Linked DNA regions of Homo sapiens: region 2 is linked to region 1. Evidence: promoter capture Hi-C in human tissues and cell types (Jung and others, 2019). All regions are on one chromosome and are shown on one strand. The core of a region is centred on a gene start or on the middle of the fragment in contact, and the rest is flanking DNA. Distances in the headings are between cores, read along the strand shown.

Region 1 (3,559 bases), core at 598-3,097:
AAACATAAAAGTCCCTTTAGGGCCAATTGTGACTTTGCAGTCTGTCCAGCCCTTTATCAGTTTTAAAGAAATTGACAAATGTAATATTATAAAGCTTAAAAAAGTTTATTTCTATTAAGGAAGGATAAAGCACTTAAAATTGGATAACTATGTAGTGGGTTCTAATTATTAGTATTTCTTAAGTTCCAGAGAGTTCCACTTGATAAAAACAGTTACTTCAGCTAGTGCCAAATTCTAGGAGTAGCTTTGGTCTCCCATAACGGCCACCAAATATTAATTGCAAATAAATAACCTAAGTAAAAGCAGTGTGTTTGTTCTGCATATATAGCTTGAAGATCCACCCCTCACCTTCAAACCAGACAGTCACCTCTGTAAGCCTTTCCTACAGAGAAATTCTGGAGCCAACACTATTTCCAGAAAAACAGTCCCATGAATTATTAGTCAAAAGTTACTGGACTGTCCTTGCTGCTTAATTGCAAAATTAAATAAAATGGAGAGTGGGGGGTAGTTCTCACCCTTCCTGGATTTTACCTGATAGTTAACCTTTGGCTAGATGTGTAAGCTTTACAGTTCGCTTTCCTTTTCCTCCCGCACCAGGCTACTTTTTGTTCCTTCAATGCCTATTCATTCGTCTCCTCTACTCCCCGCTTCCCCTTCCTTCATACACCAACTCAGAGTTCGAGGCACCTGCCCATTTCCTTCCAAATAAAACTGTAAAGAGGTTACAATAGAAGCGCCTGTGGTGACACATTTACGAACGCCTCCGTTATCGCCCATAATCTACTCCTAGTAGCTGGGGGTGGGGGGAGTAAGAGGATAAAGAAAAACCCCAAGTAGCTTTCCTCCACCTACAAGGCCAAAAAAACGTGGTGCCCTAAGGAGCGTGGAGGGCGCCAGCATGCAGCCTCCCGGTTTCCCCGTGCAGCCCTAGGTGCAGGACCCGGGGTAGGTACCCCCTAGACGCCGAATCCTGCAAAGGTAAAAACTTGGCACTTTCTCAGTCTTGTTTCCAGACTGACGTCATCTGTTTGATTTGAGGGAAACAGCTTTCTGTTTCATAAGGAGCATTCCCAGCATCGGCGCTGAGGGAAAACAGGCGGCGCAGAGGCAGGAGCACGACCGGGCCGCGGAGGACCGGTCCAGCGCCTTCACAGACGGCTCCCGATCCGGGCCTCAGTTTTCCCGTCTGTAAAACGAGGGGGTGGACTTGGCTCCGCTCAGCGCCGATAATCTGAGCTACGGCGGCGGAATTAAGGTCTTTAGGAAGTCACTGCCCCCCCCGGCCCGGAGTCGCCTTTTCTCCAAACTGAGCAATCCTCTTACGGGAATTATGTTACTTCCAAGCACCTTTCTAGGGTGGGTCGGTGATTTCCTTTTCCCAACAGACCCTGTCAGAGCCAGACACCTGCAAAACTAGCTGGGCCCAGGTTCGGGTACCCCGAGGCGTGACAAAGGGACCATCTCCGTTCAGCGGGGAGGGATGGCCGGAGGCGACCCTCGCCGCCCCGACCGGCGGCGGCAAGTATGCAATGTGAGGCCGGCCAGGCCCCACAACGCGCCCGAGGAGACGGGCCCGCGTCGGAGACCTGGGGCCGAGCGCGGGCCGCACCCTCCCGGGGAGGCAAGGCCCGGGAATGAATGGGCGGACGGGCGCGGAGGGGCCACGGGCCGCAGACACTCACTGAGGAAGACTCGGTACTCCAGGGAGAAGGGCGCGGCGCGCTCCTCGGTGCTGAAGCCGCTCATAGTGCCGGAGTCCTGCCGCCGCCGCTGCCACAGAGCCACCAGCCCGCACGCGGCGCCGACTGACAAGGAGAGAGCCCCACGCCTGCGCACTGCGAGCACTGGACCGGCGGGCGGGGCGGGGAGCGCCTTTAACGCGGCTCTGCTAGTGTTCCCACCCCCGCCGGGCCAACCCCGTGCGCAGGCGCACTCCGCCAGGCCCGGGTGTCCGCACTCCCCAGCCCCGCCCCTCGGGCCCAGCCTCCGCGATGGCAGCTAGGGCTCAGAGGCTGGGCCACGTGGCTGCCGCCGGCGCTGGTTCTGTTCCTTCGGCTTTGGGCTCTGACCCGGGAGGGCAAATGCGCAGGCTCTAAGCTTGGACTAGCTAGGAGTTGACCGCCGACCACGCACACAGGGAACTCACCTTTGATTCTCACACACTCCTCCCCGCAGTCCTATTCCTTATCTCAAAAGGCGTTGATAAGTCACCTGCTTCCCCAGACAGGCTCTGCTTGCGGTCTTAAAGGTGAGCATTTTTCTGATCCGTCGTAACAAAGTTGAGCCATATTACTGACACCCCTAGTGGCTACTAGTAAGGTACTCGCTTCTCCACTTTCTATAATCTCTCTCACTCCGTTGCTTATCTGGGAAGTGAAGATAATAATATAACTATTTCATGAGTTACTGGGATGATTACCCGAGTTAATACACGTCAAATGCCTGAAGCAGAGCCTGTATCTTTGTAAACAATCTGGAAGTTGTTACTGTCACCCTCCCCAGTGGGGGAGGATTTACGCCCCCGCGCCCCCCGCCCCCTCCATCCCCCCTGCCACCCTACTTAACCCACCTGGGTCTCCAGGGGCTTCAGATGGAAGCACTGGGAAGGTCCAGGCGTGAGCTAGAGTCCCGTGAAGGAGTGTTCTCAGGGACAGGCTCTTCTGATCTTGATTTCCTGTTTATATTCCATCATATCAGGCCAGACCCCAAAAACTAAAGTCTGATTGAGGCAGTGGGAAAATATTTGCATCACTTACCTCCCCAGGAATACATGTAAAAGAAAAAAAGTATATCCACAATCCTAAATATAAATTAGCAAATTATTATTCACATTTCAAAGAATGCCTGGTTTTATTTATTTATTTATTTTAATTTCATGGCCAGGATTTCTTTAAATAACTTTTTCTAGAACATTAAAGATAATGTGCCTTAATGACATTTTGAATTAAACCCTTTTTTCCAAACAATGTCTATTGTAAAAAATGAATATTAAATGAAAACCTAGTAAGATCTCCAGTTAGTTATGGTGTCGCTCCCTTTGTCTCCATCCAACTCCCAAACCTCACTGACACCCATTAATTTTCAGAAGGCTGTGATTCACTGATTTTTTGAACATTTCACCACACTGTTTTACTGCTGTTAAAACAGAAGGGCAGGAAAAAAAATTAGCGAAGCAATAGTTTAGTCAATAATTAGGGTCAAGGCCAGGCGCGGTGACTTACGCCTTCAATCCCAGCACTTTGGGAGGCCGAGGTGGGCGGATTACCCGACGTCAGGAGTTGGAAACCAGCCTGGCCAACACAGTGAAACCCTGTCCCTAGTAAAAATACAAAAATTAGCTGGGCGTGGTTGCACGCGCCTGTAATCCCAGCTACTCGGGAGACTGAGGCAGGAGAACACTTGATCCCGAGAGGCGGAGGTTGCGGTGAGTTGAGATCACGCCAGTGCATTCCAGCCTGGGTGACAGAGCGAGACTCTGTTTCAGAAAAAAAAGTAGGATCAAGTTCAAAGAATATTTTAAGGGGATGCTCTTTTGATTGAACTGCTCTATCACTTTTCT
Region 2 (3,440 bases), core at 56-2,555, 100 kb after region 1:
AGGGCAGAGTCAGACGGTCAGGTGGGCAGTGTCCTTCCACCAGCCCATGCTCAGTGCTGAGGAGGCTTCACACAGAGACAGCTGCTGCCCACAGGGGTCAGAGGGCATTTCCAGATGCCACACTCACTCCTTGGGGGTGGACAAGGGGAAGGGCAGAAAAAGCACTTTTAACAAGGTCTGGAACAGACTAAAATGAAGTACTAAACATTCTGCCTCCATAAAAAGACTAAGGCAGGCCAGGTGCAGTGGCTCACGCCTGTAATCCCAACACTTTGGGAGGCTGAGACAGGCGGATCACTTGAGTCTAGGAGTTCAAGACTAGCCTGGGCAACATGGCAAGACCCTGTCTCTACAAACAATACAAAAAATTAGCTAGGTTTGATGGTGTGTGCCGTAGTCCCAGCTAGTCGGGAGGCTAAGGTGGAAAGATCACTTGAGCCCAGGAGGCAGAGGTTGCAGTGAGCCGAGATTGCACCACTGCACTCCAGCCTGGGTGACAGAGGGAGACCTGTTTCAAAAGAAAAGACTAAGGTAGCTCTTTTTTCTTGCTGTGTGAACTTGGGCAAGTTACTTGTTACTTTATGCTCTGTTTGCTTACAACAGTACCTACCCTTGGTGGCATATTATAAATGCTACTATTATGAAGTATATTTATATTTACATAGGCATGGAATATCTCCAGTACTGCTAATGGTGGTTGTCTCTGGACACGGACTTGGATGTCTGGGGACAGGAGTAGAAGAGCAGACTTATTTTTCCCCACTATCCTTTCAATCCTCAAAATATCACATTGTGTGCATCTACTGCCTAATCAAAAATAAATAAGTAAATAGGATACGTTTTTCAAATGAAGACTTAGAGCTCTGCAGGTGTGGCAGAGACATAAACAGCAACAAGAGAGGTGCTTGGGAATGGGTAAGAAGAGCAGAGGCAGGTATGGAAACATCTGAATCGCAGAGCTGGGAGCAAAGGAGAGCTGCACTTAGAGCCTGGAAGAGGGAAGTGAAGGGAAACTGCAGTCTTCTGCCTTACAGGGTTGCAAGAAGTGTTAGCTTGGGCTCTGGAGGACAGAGGTACCAGAGGCTCAGAGCCACACGGTCCTGGTGTTCCAGGTGTACCCTCCTCCCCCAACACACTGTACAGAATTCTGGGCTGGGGGGTGCAAGGGGGCTGTTGAGGTCTGCTGGTTTCTAGGGGTGGTTAAGACCCAGGATGGAAGCGATGCTCTCCTGCTGGTGCAGCAGCAATCCATCTCCAGGCTGCCCCAACTCCCCTTCATAGGGAATTTAACTTATTTTTTGTAGCTCTGTAGGTTGGTTGGTCTCTGCTGGGCGGTTCTTCTGCTATATGTAGTAGAGCCTCAAAATGCCCTCTGACCTCAGTGATCCCATCTCTGGGATTCTACTAAGGATGCTGAAGCCCATGATGCTTGGGTTCCTTAACACTGCTAGGAAGGGCTGACCCACTGCCCAGAAGCAGCCATGCAGGGGTCACAAACAGTTTGGCCTTTGCTTCACTGAGGTCATCCAGGTAGCTCCAGGGGTGGGGCACCCTTGAGGACTGATGGCAAAAACTGATGCAGAAGGCCACAACCTTGTCACTGCCTTGGTACCAGGTAGGAACTCTTGATCATCTGCAATTGGGGTCTGCCCCTTGTGCATAACTCAGGGGAGATGGACTCTCCCAGACCCCACTATTCCAGTGGTGGGTTGCACTGAAAGAACCAGAAAATGTGTTTCTGGCCGGGTGCTGTGGCTCAGGCCTATTATCCCAACACTTTGGGAGGACATGATGGGTGGATCATCTGAGGCCAGGAGTTTGAGACCAGCCTGACCAACATGGTTAAATCCTGTCTCTACTAAAAATACAAAAATTAGCCAGGCGTGGTGGCAAGTGCCTGTAATCCCAGCTACTCGGGAGGCTGAGGCAGAAGAATCGCTTGAACTGGGGAGGTGGAGGTGGCAGTGAGCAGAGATAGTGCCACTGCACTCCACCCTGGGTGACACAGCGAGACTCCATCTTAAAAAAAAAAAAAAGAAAATGTGTTTCTGACAGAGTAGATCTGCCTGATCCCATGCTACAACCAAACCTAAGCATCCCATTGACCGCACAAAGCTTCCATGTCTGCCCTGCTGTCCCTGCACATTCCTGAGCCCCCTCTTCTTTTCTCTTTTGTCCACTAAGTAACATCAGCTATTAGAAAAAGTAAACCCAGTGGGCTGAAGTGAAGTAGGAAGCTGGGGAGGAACAGCACACTGTGACCCCAACACCCCAACAGCCTTTCTGAGGACGGTTCCCTTGCTCCCCGGGTTTGGAAATGTAATGTGCCCAGGGGACACTCCCCGTCTCCTCCCTTCCCAGAACTCCAGAAAATAGTAACTCCTGTGGGGCACTGACATACACTGTTCACTGGCACACCCCCTTCCCACCCCCAAATACCGCCTAAGACTCCTGACCACACGTGGACAGCAGCAGCTTTGATGGCATGGCCTGAGGAACAGAGGGACCCACCCCGTCCTCACCACCCTGGCCTGTTAGGATGAACTCAGTTGCTTTAACCTAGCTTCTCCATGCCCTCTGCCCACACCCACCCCCAGGCACCAGGCATGTAGGGCCCTTGGAGCAGGAAGACCACTCCCCAAAGTGTGCAGAGAGGAGCCAAGGCTGAGGCGTGGCCCCCTCTGGCACCAAGGCGGTTGCCAGAGGTAAAGATAAAGCCTGGTGCCTCCCTCCTGACTGTCCTAATTGCTGAGATAATGAGGAAAATTGCCCCATTTTCTCTGGCAGGCACCAGGAGCTGCTGCCTGGAGAGCCCTGTGGTGAGGGTAAGGGGCAGCCCAGTGAGCAGCCAGGAGCCCTCTGCAGACAGGCTCCCCCCAGGTGTCATGCACCCTGTGGGCTCACCCTGGGCACATCTCCGAGGTCACCCCTGGGAGGGCCTGGCTCTGAGGAGGAAACCACACTTCTTCCCGGAGTTTATGGCTGGCTGGCATCTCCCTGTCAGGGACAGTGTAAAGAACACACACTTGGGGAAACAGAAAGAGGCAAGAAGCCTGGTGCTGCTGAAAAATCAGAGAAAATGAGCCACGAGCCCCAGGGAACTTCTCAACTCCACATTGCTGGATGCTCCCCAACTACTCACAAGCCCTCTGGGGCCCAGTTCCACCAGGCTGTGTTACCTCCAGATGCAGGGTCTTGGGGTCAGCAAGTCTCCATGGAGGCCCCAGGCTGGCCGACTGGAGCAACCCACCTCCCAGTCCGCCCGCCCGCGCCCACACACAGCTGCTCCCGACCAACCAAAGCCGCTCCCCTGCCCTGCAGCAGCCCCAGCAGCCAGCTCCGGCTGCCCTGGCCCAGGCCCAGGCTCTTGAGATGAGGGAACTCATCGCTTTGGAGGGCAGAAGGAGCTCGCAACCTCCCTTATGACTTGGCTTCAAGGC

What was found. The method cuts DNA at HindIII sites, captures the fragments that hold promoters and counts their contacts. A contact is called where the count stands out against the background at its distance.
Region 2: a fragment that was not itself captured here is called in contact with the fragment with the promoter of PPA1 in region 1 in 3 of the 25 tissues and cell types used here (IMR-90 fibroblasts, hippocampus and lymphoblastoid cells).

The regions. Positions count from the first base shown.
Region 1 is chr10:70,231,582-70,235,140 of GRCh38, forward strand. PPA1 (inorganic pyrophosphatase 1) reads right to left here and starts at 1,848. Exons shown (of 11, transcript NM_021129.4): 1 at 1,683-1,848. The coding sequence starts at 1,746. RefSeq lists a silencer at 1,490-2,059. The HindIII fragment of the contact is 11,213 bases long and covers 1,330-3,559 here.
Region 2 is chr10:70,332,128-70,335,567 of GRCh38, forward strand. The region is part of intron 3 of LRRC20 (leucine rich repeat containing 20); the gene reads right to left. Among named protein-coding and RNA genes, the nearest start is that of LRRC20, 49 kb to the right of the region's middle. RefSeq lists an enhancer at 2,873-3,373. The HindIII fragment of the contact is 5,717 bases long and covers 1-3,440 here.